Linked DNA regions of Homo sapiens: region 2 is linked to region 1. The links are contacts of gene promoters, found by promoter capture Hi-C in human tissues and cell types (Jung and others, 2019). All regions are on one chromosome and are shown on one strand. Each heading gives the region's core, a stretch centred on a gene start or on the middle of the fragment in contact. The rest is flanking DNA. Distances are from core to core; before and after follow the strand shown. Region 1 holds the start of C14orf93 (chromosome 14 open reading frame 93). Region 2 overlaps NGDN (neuroguidin).

Evidence for each region. The method cuts DNA at HindIII sites, captures the fragments that hold promoters and counts their contacts. A contact is called where the count stands out against the background at its distance.
Region 2: a fragment that was not itself captured here is called in contact with the fragment with the promoter of C14orf93 in region 1 in 1 of the 25 tissues and cell types used here (hippocampus).

The regions. Positions count from the first base shown.
Region 1 is chr14:23,007,880-23,013,924 of GRCh38, reverse strand. C14orf93 (chromosome 14 open reading frame 93) reads left to right here and starts at 3,782. Exons shown (of 7, transcript NM_021944.4): 1 at 3,782-3,824. LOC124903286 (a long non-coding RNA gene) reads right to left here. Exons shown (of 2, transcript XR_007064075.1): 2 at 4,941-6,045. RefSeq lists a silencer at 3,444-3,793 and an enhancer at 5,421-5,981. The HindIII fragment of the contact is 12,898 bases long and covers 1-6,045 here.
Region 2 is chr14:23,476,967-23,483,011 of GRCh38, reverse strand. NGDN (neuroguidin) reads right to left here. Exons shown (of 11, transcript NM_001042635.2): 9 at 5,656-5,812; 10 at 5,452-5,509; 11 at 4,839-5,005. The coding sequence ends at 4,986. Among named protein-coding and RNA genes, the nearest start is that of NGDN, 10 kb to the right of the region's middle. RefSeq lists enhancers at 1-183, 184-941. The HindIII fragment of the contact is 5,158 bases long and covers 1-5,002 here.

The DNA.
Region 1 (6,045 bases), core at 2,533-5,032:
ATTACAGGTGCACACCACCACACCTGGCTAAGTAGCTGGGATTACAGGTGCACCCCACTACACCCGGCTAAATTTTGTATTTTAGTAGAGACGGGTTTCACCATGTTGATCAAGCTGGTCTCGAACTCCTGACCTCAAATGATCCACCTGCCTTGGCCTTCCAAAGTGCTCAGATTACAGGCATGAGCCACCACGCCCAGTTAGGCTTGTGTTATTTTTTAGAAGTTTAAATGAAAAGCATATAAAAAGAAACACATGTTGGGCACAGTAGCATGCACCAGCTATTGGGGAGGCTGAGGCAAGAGGATCCCTTGAGTCCAAGAGTTTGAGACCAGCCGAGGCAACATAGTGAGGTCCTGTCTCTAAAAAGAGAAAAAAGAAACACAGAAAGTCTATAACCCTTGAGAAAGTAAACACTAGCACCTCATTTTCAGGTAAAAGGCAAATCTATTGCCTAAGCTAGGGTGCTGCTAGGGTGAAAACAACACTGAAGGCATTAGGCCTTTCTGCTGAGAACTAGATCCTACCAACAATGCCCTGGACGTTGAGAACCAACAATTTTATGGACGAGGCCTGACTGATGGCCAGTGTCAAAATGTGTGTGTGAGTGTGTGTGTGTATGTTGAACAGCTTGATAAGACAGCTGGCTTGGGGGTTCAGGTCTGTCGCCTATTAGCTATGTAAATTTGTAGTAAGTACTCTCTGAACCTGTTTCTTGTAAAATGGTGACGCCACTAATCTAACTTGGCTACAATCAAATTATCTAATATCCAGGCCATATTTAATTTTCCCAAGTATCCTGTTAGTGTCCAGGATAGCATTTTTTCTTCTGACCCAGATCATACTTTGCATGTAGTTGTCATGTCCCTAGATTATTATTATTTTTGAGACGAAGTCTTGCTCTGTCACCCAGGCTGGAGTGCAGTGGCACCATCTCGGCTCACTGCAATCTCCGCCTTCCGGGTTCAAGTGATTAATGTGCCTCAGCCTCCGGAGTAGCTGGGACTACAGGCATGCACCACTACACCCAGCTAATTTGTGTATTTTTAGGAGAGACAGGGGTTTCACTATGTTGCCCAGGCTGGTTTCCAACTCCTGAGCTCAAGGGATCTGCCGTGCCGCTTCGGTCTCCCAAAGTACTGGAATTACAGACATGAGCCACTGCGCCCGGCCAAAAAAAATTTATTTTTAAGTGGCACGATCTCAGCTCACTGCAACTTCTGCCTCCCAGGTTAAAGGGATTCTCCTGCCTCAACGTCCCAAGTAGCTGGGATTACAGGCGTGCGCCACCAAGCCCAGCCAATTTTTGTATTTTTAGTAGAGACGGGGTTTCACCATGTTGGCCAGGCTGGTCTTGAACTCCTGACCTCAGGTGATTTGCCTGCCTCATCCTCCCAAAGTGCTGGGATTACAGGCGTGAGCCACCACACCCGGCCTTATTATTTTATTATTATTATTTTTTGAGATGGAGTCTCGCTCTGTCCTCCAGCCTGGAGTGCAGTGGCGCAATCTTGGCTCACTGCAACCTCTGCCTCCTGGGTTCAAGCAATTCTCCTACCTCAGCCTCCCAAGTAGCTGGGACTACAGGTGCGCATTACGATGCCCAGCTAACTTTTTGTATTTTTAGCAGAGACGGGGTTTCACCATGTTGGTCAGTCTGGTCTCGAACTCCTGACCTCGTGATCCGCCTGCCTGGACGACAGAGAAAGACTCTGTCTCGAAAAATAAAAAATAAAAAAAAAAAATAATAATAATAATACCTAAATTGATGCACATAAAGTGTTCAGAACAGTTACTTCCTGCACAATAAGTGTTCACAAATTGCTACTTACTATAGAAGGGAAATTCTTGTGAGATGTGAGTTTCAGAATCTGTGTTTTAGCTAGAAAAGAAATTCACTTATTTGATCATAAATGATTTTTGGCCCGGCATGGTGGCTCACGCCTGTAATCCCAGCACTTTGGGAGGCTGAGGCTGGTGGATCACGAGGTCAAGAGATCCAGACCATCCTGACTAACACGGTGAAACCCCGTCTCTACTAAAAATACAAAAAATTAGCCAGACTTGGTGGCGGGCGCCTGTAGTCCCAGCTACTCGGGAGGCTGGGGCAGGAGAATGGCGTGAACCTGGGAGGTGGAGCTTGCAGTGAGCCGAGATCGGGCCACTGCACTCCAGCCTGGGCGACAGAGCGAGACTCCAGCTCAAAAATAAATATAAATAAATAAATGATTTTTTTGGTCAGTGTTTACTAAATATCTACAATTATGCCAGCTACTGCAGTAAGAATCAAACAGTTCCTGGATGGAAAAACAATTTTAAGATATGATCACTGACCTCAAACAGTTTACTGGAGTGAAATTACTAAAATATGTGAATCAAGGTAGAGTTACGTGCCGCTAACTGGAGTACACATGAAATTCATGTTGATGGGAGCGGAGAGAAGGAAGTAAGCAGTCTGTGCTGAAAGAGAATGGATAAAAATTGACCAGTCAGGGAAGGGGAGACGCATAATTCAGGCCAAAAAAAAAAAAAAAAGCCACTTGAGTAAAGGAATAATACAAGATTGATAAGACGAGCGTAGAGGGAACTAAGAACAAATATGTGCCCAGGCGCGGTGGCTCACGCCTGTAATCCCAGCACTTTGGGAGGCCAAGGCGGGAGGATAACTTGAGGTCAAGAGCTCAAAACCAGCCTGGCCAACATGGTGAAACCCCGTCACTACTTAAAAAAAAAAAATAGCCGGGCGTGGTGGCATATATCCGTAATCCCAGCTACTCGGGAGGCTGAGGCAGGAGAATCGCTTGAGCCTCGGAGGTGGGGGTTGCAGTGAGCCGAGATCACATCACTGAAAAAAAAAAAAAAAAGGCAGGGTGGGCACATCACCTCAAGTCAGGAGTTCAGGACCAGCCTGGCCAACATGGCGAAACCCTGTCTCTACCAAAAACAAAAAAAATTAGCTGGGTGCAGTGGCGCACGCCTGTAGTCCCAGCTTCTTGGGAGGCTGAGGCAGGAGAATCGCTTGGGCGGGGTGGGGGTGGGGGTGGGGGTGGGGGCGGAGGGGCGGAGTTTACAGTGAGCGAAGATCATACCACTGCACTCCAGCCTGGGTGACAGAGCGAGACTCTGTCTAAATAAATAAATAAATAACAAATAGGTGGGTGGGACCAGATTATGGGTGGCTTAAAATCCAGGTATACCAGCTGTCTTCCTGGAAATAAAGAGGAGCCACTTTAGTTTTGAGAATGTGGTCTGAGCCAGGTAGATAAACTGGGAGCTCGGGCTGAAGTGTAAGACTTCAGAAAGATGTTCCATACGTGAATGTTCATTTAAACGTGGGGGTGTTAAGCAACACACGTGACCCAGAGACATTTCACCTGGAAACCGGAGTAGGGCCCACGCACCAAGTCCCTGATGTTTAATTGCAGTCTAGAATGTTACTGACTAGTTCACTCAATTTAACAAAGTGTCCGGAGGTCGCTCACTGGATTGTTATGCTGGTGACTGGGCCTTGTTTCACTGAGAAAAAAAGATGGGAAAGGGTGACAGGACGGTGAGAAAGTGAAAGGGAGAGAGGTGGGAAAGGGGTCTGCCAAGGTCCAGGCGAGGTTGGGGGTCGGGGGTCCGGCGGCCCTCAGGGCCCCCCCCGCCCCCAACTCCGGGGTTGGCGCCTCGGGCGCGGCGCGTGTGCTTGCGGGCGGGGCGCCCCGCGGCCGCGGACGGCCAATCCGGGAGGGCGTCCGGGGAGGGGCGGGGCTTGCCGGCTCGGGCTCCGCGAGTCCTCCTTTTTGCACACACACGAATACAAAGAGCCATACGACCTTCGGGTATCCTTTTTCCATTTTTTTTCCTCCTTAATCTTGTGTGTGTTTTCAAATTTTTTAAAAATAGAGATCTGTAGCAGTGTTGGGGTGAGGAAACTGTTGCTAAGGGGAATTTGCTCTTTCCCCCATTTCTTTTTCTGTCTCTCTTCCTCTTTCTTTTTCCTGGTCAAGGTTTTAAATATACCAAGAAGTTGAGAAGCAGGATGGCCGTGTACAACCGTTTCCGGCCAAATTTATAGTTTTTTTTTCTTTTTTTTAAATCACATTTTAAGAACTGGTAGATTTTTGTGGTTGAGGGACTTTAAAAATTTAGCCGCTTGGGAAGTACAGAATTTTTTAAGCGGGCTGAAGGGATAATGTAAATTTCTGCCACAGGCAACATCGAAGGAAGCAGAGAGATTTGAGGCTCCCTCATAAAGCCGTTTGCGTGCTTTTTACACACCCACCCCCCCAGAACCAAAACCAAGTGGCTGGGATGTGGCACTTGTCCAAGGCCAATAAGTTAATATTGGGATATTATAATGGAGACATTCATTTCCCTAGGGAAGGGGGAAAGACCTTAATTACAGTGTGTCTTTCACACACATTTTCATTAGAACATTTGTGTGTGTGTGTGTGTGTTTCTTGAAACAAATTTGTAAAGTTATAACTTGGGGTTATTTGTGTATATGTACAATATGTGTGTATATGTGCCATATCAGATTTTATTTTCAAAAGTGATAAATATATCTGGTTTTATGTGTGCAAAGTATCCCCTAGGATGTGAATTTTTTTCCGTTGTCTTCCCAAATGTGATCAAAATATTTTGTGTGCAAAGCAGAGCTTAGAAGAAATCCTATGCTTAGCATACTTAGGCACTTTCTATGTGCATTTACTATATTTTTCTGCTCCTAAAGGATCAGAATAATGAATAATTAAATAATTGCCAAGGAGTATATAGTCCATGTGGCAAATGAGAGTAGGCAATTTATTGAATCTGTGGTTCAAAGCCTTCAGTGACTGTTTTGCCTAAGTGGTTTTGCTTTTTATTGTCTCACGTTCTTAAGTGTACAGCTGTGTATATTTTGGCCTTTATGTGTGGTTTGGTTGGTGTGTTCAGAAGGGAAGTTCTTTCTTGGCTTTTTGACAAAATGGTCGTTTATTGGTTGGAATATTCGAAAAGCTCCACAGCTGGCAAAGTATCAGGAAAAAAATCCAGTCAAGTGTAATTCTCAAAAACTGTTCATGGTGATGGTGATGGGGAGCCAAGAGGATGCAAAGGCAAATAATAGAAGGGATAAGAAATGCCTTTTGGTTATCATGTTGCATTTTTAGAATGGAAAGCTTCTCATTTCTAAGAGTCACAGAAAAAAGTATATGAATTAGAGAAAAACAGGCTCGCAGAGCAGAACCTCCTGTTATAGGAGCCCTATTTTCACTTCATTCTGTTACAGAATCACTATCTCCTCATTAGAAGTTGTATGGAAAATATCTGTATCCAAATTTGTATTCGCAGATTGGAGTGAAAGCATAGGAGGTATATGAGGTGCTGAGGGAGAAACTGGAATGTCACAAATGCAGTGACAACCAGGAGACAAAAAAAAAAATCTACTGTAGAATTTAAATTTCATTACAACAAAACTTCTGTATAATAATGCATTTCTATTACACAGCTAGCATCCTACTCTATTTCAAGCAGTATTTGACTCCTAAATACTGACTGCAATAAAGTTACTTGTACAAATTTATAACAAAAGTGGCCCTGTTTGGGCTTTCTGGGTTTCTTACTTGTGCTGAGTGTATTTTTATTCTCTAACAATTCAAGTCAGACCAGTGCTTAATAAATACTGGCTCGACTGTGGATTATTCCACAATTTCAGACCTGCATTTCTTTGAAATCTAGTCACATTTTAGTGATCTTTGTGATCACAACAGTGATGGGAGTTTTTTTTTTTTTTTTTTTTTTTTTTGAAACGGAGTTTCGCTCTTGTTGCCCAGGCTGCAGTGGCAATGGTGCGATCTTGGCTCACTGCAACCTTCGCCTCCTGGGTTCAAGCGATTCTCCTGTCTCGGCCTCCCGAGTAGCTGGGATTACAGGCATGTGCCACCATGCCGGGCTGATTTTTGTATTTTTAGTAGAGACGGGGTTTCACCATGTTGGTCAGGCTGGTCTCCAACTCCTGACTTTAGGTGATCCGCCCGCCTCTGCCTCTCAAAGTGCTGGGATTACAGGCGTGAGCCACCG
Region 2 (6,045 bases), core at 1,174-3,673, 470 kb before region 1:
TGCTTCCTCCCAGCACTGCCTCAAAACTCCCAACCACCATTAGAAACCCCCAGGGAGCCACCAAGGTCTAAGAAGGAAAGAAGGGAAGGGTTCCCCCCACCAAACAGACCAAGTGGGGGAGGACAGGGTGGAATGAAAGAGAGAATGCAAAAGCTCTGCAGAGGGAGGGGAGAGAGAAATGTGATCAGTAGTATTTGTTGTGCTTCCAGGGAGGAAGGATCTGTCACATTTTTAATAATAATAAATACATGAAGACAGATTTGCCAGCACTGCTCTGGCTTCTTGGGAAGTGTGGGGGAGGGGAAGTAATGCAGCTGCAGCACACACCAATATCTCCCCCTCCCCTCCCCCATTAGATAGGCTCAGTATTGCAGCAGCCTCCCCCTCCCCCTCTAACCGCAGTCCTCCCCTTCACAGCCCACCCTTTCCACGGTCCCGTCACACAGTTCTGCCCCTCCTTCCCCTACTTGTATCTCTACTCACTCCAACCCCACTCTGTCCTTTCAGTGCTGGTCCTCATTTAACACATGCTTACTCTAGCTGGAAGAAACCTTAGCACCTACATCTTAGATGAATGAATCTGTTCCCCCAATCCTGAGGCTCTGCTGTTTCCAATCAGTGCCCTTCACTAGCTGACAGCAATCTTCCCCTACACCCCACACAACACTCCCACAGATGTAATCCAGCACATTTCAGCATTTCCTGGATTCCACCAAAAAGGATTGCTTTTCTCCCCGTTTTAATCTCAATGTGACCTCCTTTCTCACATCCTTCCTTAAATATAATGGCCATCAAATGTGTTTGTGTTTAGGGGGTGTCAGGGCCTCAGGACTCAGTGACTACTGCCACCTATTGACCCAAGTTTGTTCACGATAGACCTTTAATACACTTCTTACACAGCGACGCTCTGTCATCTCAAAAGCATCAATAGCTTAAACATGCAAAGGCATGGCTCTGGGGGCTTCTCTGAGACCCTCTGAACAATGAGATCAAAGAAACACAAAAGCAAGACTGGGCAGAGAGCCAGAGCATTGATGCCTTTCCTCATGCAGAGGCAGAAAACGAGGCCCAAGGAATGAAAAAGCAACTTTAAGTCCCCTCAAGGTTCTCTAAGCAAAGATGAGTAGGGAACAGAGTTTTTCTTAAGGGCTGGTAAAAATTTCATGTATCATAATATAAATGATAAATGATGTTACCAATGGAGCAGGAGGCAGGATTCCACTCACATACCTCCATCAAGTTAGCCAAATCCTTGGCATGAATCTGGGATTTATGGACCTAAAAGATTCCAGGGAGGATGGGGGACACTCAGGGGTGTGTTTGACTCTCATCCAATCTGTACCAATCAGAACTGGAGACTGGACAAACTGGGCTCTGAAAAAGGGCAGGTCTACACCACGCAGCTCTATGGTTTAGCTGTGTCCCATTCACCAAACCAAGGAATGAGGAGCGTTTGAACTCTCCATGGTGCTGAAAATTGACACACTAATAATCTCCCCTGCAAACAAAACACAGTTTTCCTAATAAGGTATCTATGAAGACTGTTGTGAATTCCCAATAGACATTTCCCCAAGCCTTCATAAAATCCTAACAAAACAATGATTTTAAGGCAAAGACAGACCTTGGTCAAACTCTCTTCCCTGTCCCCTAAGATGAAAAGAATGAGGCAGAGATGTAAATTACTTCTACAGAATAAAGCTATCACATGACAAAACCATCACATGATAAAACCAAACAGGTAAGGTGCTCATGTGTGCATTAATGACAGCTATTACTTAGTGAACACCAGAAATGATCTGTTGTCAGCAATACACTGAGGAAATCCGATATTCATATGGTCTGAATAATCAGATAACTGAATCTATTAGTAGGAATAAGGGAAAGAAAAAAAGTGACCAGAACAGCCATAACGAAATCCTAAAATTCTAGTTCTTAGTTCCCTTGTTCTACTACCCTAACAGTTGTTTTCAAACTATATTCTAAGGAATTCTAAAGGTTCCTTGGGGGCTCCTCAGGAATCTTGGGGAAAGGGGGTCATAAGAACATGGAACTTCAGGACCCCTCATTCCCACTTCAATCAAAGTAACCCCACTTATGCTTGTTTTACATATTGAGAATCCATGTAATACTCCATCAAACAATACACTCTAAACAGTGTTTGATGACTCTGGTACAAATATTCTCAGAAATAGTTCAACTTTTTACCAGAAACTTCTTTCAAATAATGCCTAAAAGCCAGGGAAAACAAAATGTCCTGGGATTAAAGACTTGATTGAATTAATATAAGGTCCACAAAGGCAGGGATTTTGTCTGCTGTGTTCACTGGTATACCACAAAGAGACCAGAATTGTGGAACTTAGGGTTTCTTTGAAGACGAGGCCTGTAACAGAAATGGGGCAGTAGGGCGGGGGAGCTAGATTATAAACCACCTACAAATAAAAAAAGATTTTTTAACCCTGAAGATTTTCATGAACCACAGGACACTTGAAGTCCTCCATCCTCAGTGTTCCCCAAGCACTGGTTCTCCAACTCAGGAAAAATTGTTTGCCCTAAGTGTCTAAGCTTCCTCACTAGTAAAATGGAGATTTCATAAATTTTATAAGGATTGCCAGGCGTGGTGGCTCATACCTGTAATCCCAGCACTTTGGGAGGCCAAGGTGGGTGGATCACGAGGTCAGGAGATTGAGACTATCCCGGCTAACACAGTGAAACCCTGTCTCCACTAAAATACAAAAAATTAGCCAGGTGTGGTGGCACGTGGCTATAGTCCCAGCTACTCAGGAGGCTGAGACAGGAGAATCGCTTGAACCCAGGAGGCAGAGGTTGCAGTCAGCGGAGATCACGCCACTGCACTCCAGCCTGGGCAACAGAGTGAGACTCCATCTCAAAAAAAAAAAAAAAAATTTATAAGGATTAAGTATAAAGCACTTAGCTCAGCCTATAGCACAGGAATTTTTTTTTTTTTTTTGATGGGTCTTACTATCATTCAGTCTGGAATGCAGTGGTAAGATCATAGCTCACAGCAAGCTCAAACTCCAGGGCTTAGGCAATACCCCTGCCTCAGTCTCCCAAGCAGCTGGGACTACAGACACACGCCACCACACCTGCCTAATTTTTTTATTTTTATTTTTTTTTAGAGACAGGGTCTTGTTGTGTTAAACATGCTGGTCTTGAACTCTCTGGCCTCAAACTATCCTCCTGACCCAGCCTCCCAAAGTGTCCAGATTATAGATATGAGCCACCACACCTGGCCAGAAGGTAGTACCTGTTTTGTTTTGTTTTGTTTTGTTTTGTTTTTTAAAGAGCACTTCCCTTCCCCTGGAAGTTCCCATAATCCACAAATCTTAATAAATTAGAAACAAATATAGTGGTCCTAACAAGCAAATGAAGTGGTTTTAACTAAAGTATTTTTGAACTGAATCACTCATCTAGTTAGTTCAGCCATAAAGGAAAAAAAGTCTCTAAATCTGTTCTTGTGGCTCTTTGTTTAGATTCCCTTGAGGAAACAGAAGTATGAGAGCCCAGGGCATGTGAGACTCTCTCAGATCTATCAGGGACTAAAGGTTAGCGGCCCCAGACATAAGCCCATCTTGGTGTCATGCACAAAAGCTCTAGGCTCTTTGACTTGAAGGGAATCTCACAGATGAAGTCTAATACATTCCTTAGCTGAGGAAAATTAAAGGCCAGGGATATTAAGTGATTTGCCCAAGATCACAGAATTAGCCTAAGACAGCCATAGGTCCAGTCTCCTAACTACTTTCTACCAAGCGGCAGCTGAGTGAAAGACCCCTGCCCCAATCAGGCTGAATAGTATAAATCCAAATTCAGAAATTCAGAATCAACGAGGTTTTAGTCATATAACCCAAATTAATTTGTCTATCGATATAACCCAGCAATACTAGACATTAAAATCAGATGTTCATGAGACCCAAAGCCTTTTTTAAAAACTCCAATGAATTAATTCTACAGACCCAACTTCTATCTTTTTTTAATCCCTTTTTTCACTTTCTGTATTATCCAAGGCCTGTGGGACATCTCACCAACAGAGGTTATTCTCTCATTAGAATACAAGATCTCAGATGTATAACGCCCACCAGTCTCCTGGCTTGAGTTTGGCTAATTATTTCTGTGGGATTTTCATTTGTTTGGCTGTTAAGCTAGGAATGTTCTGCTTGTCTGCTGGCATTTTTTTTTTTTTTTTTTTTTTGCCAGCTCTTTATAGAAGGGTTGGCCTTTATTGACTCTGGTAAAATGACCCTCAGTTGAAGGCGGGGGGGTGGGGGTCAGAGTCTGAAAAACACAAGACTATACTGACTCTTCACTCTAGCCTTCTTACTCACTCTACTATTTTCTACAAACTCCCTCAGTAACTGACCAAAGATCAGCCTTATGTTCATGCTATTTCAGAAAGAAATGAAAAACATTCAGAGAAGTGGAGATAAGAATAATCTTGCTGATGTGGAAAGGTTCTATCTTGCTTTTGATTACAGCCAAGCTCAAGTTTCTTGAACCACTTATGCCACCTGGTGGCCAGCCCAGATAACACTAATAAAACCTAAAATTCATGTGTTAATATCTCAATCTGTATTGTATTATAACAAATCATACAGGAAGTTGTGGCAACATGGGTTGAAAGAGTTGATTATACCAGCCTCGTCTCTCAATACTTTTTGTGACGTAACCAATTTTTAGTTTTTGGGAAAAATATATTATCAAAGAAAACAATACAAATGTTTTGCACTTCCAAAAAAAATTTCCCTTTTCACCAACCACTCACCAAAAATATCCCAAACCCAACGACTCCAGTCGTACAATACATGTGCAAAAAGGGGCTTTAATTCATAAGCAAAATCAATTTTATTAGTAAGGCTCTTTCCACATGTCCAAAGCAAACAATTAATGAATTCCAGGGAAAACCACCTATATACAATGAAATTAGAAGTATCTCAGGATGACAAAAAATATACAAATATGTACACCCATAATCACCGCCGCCTCCGAAAACCTGAAAGGAAGGGAAACCAAGAATGAGGCAAAGGACAGTTGGAAAAGCTAAAGGGACAGGAAAACAGGACATCTAGAGGGAAGGGCTCACAGGGGTGGGGTCTCCTAGGCAGTACCCTGAATATCTTCCCAGGACAAAAGACGAGAAGTAGGAATAAAATTGAAATGGGATAATGGTTCCTTCAAGTGACACTTTACCAGTTCTATTTAGGGAAGCCTGAACAGGAGCTGTGGGACCTTAGAGGCAGAATCCAGAGATTCATTTTGTGAATGATGCTGATTTCCAGCTCAGGAAAGCAAAAAATAAAAGCCCACCTAAGGAGATTATTGCCCAGTATGGAAGAGATACTACAGGGCTTGGTGAGACCCAGAATGGCAAATCCAAAGAGACTCAATTTGTACTCCCCACCTTGCACCTGATCACCTAAGTCCCAGCAGTTCACTGACCTTTTTTCTTCCGACCTTTCTGAGGTATCTTCTTCCGCTTCTTAATAGGATTCTGATCCTGGAGACAGATGGAGAAGTGATGGAATGGCACTGTGGTTCTGAGAGCCAGCATCCCTTCCCAAGTTCCTCATGGTAATAAGCCCCACATACATTTTGCTGAAAGCATGAAAGTCACATCCTACTACAACCATATCTCAACCTCACCTCATCAAGATGAACAGTTCCCCCTGTCAAAGCACTGATGTCACTGAAGTGTGTAAGGGAATGAAGTTGTGAGCTCATGACATTTGCTCGTTTTCGCCGTCCTTTCTCTCGCTTACTGACGCTCAAACGCACCATCATGCTCTCCTCATAGTTAATCCTGCCAGAGAAAGACAGTTTCCAGCAGGCTCAGACCATGGAGATGGAAAGCTCCAGCCCACAACCTGGGCCCAAGTATCTACTCATCTCTTGTTCAGGGAGTTCTCAAGAAGTTTCACAGCAGATCAACATAGTATTTAGTAAGGACATATTGAATGCTCAATACTGAGCTTCCTCAATGAAATGTGCTCTGTGCTAGAACTTCCCTCATGCTAGATATGAATCCATAGCCTA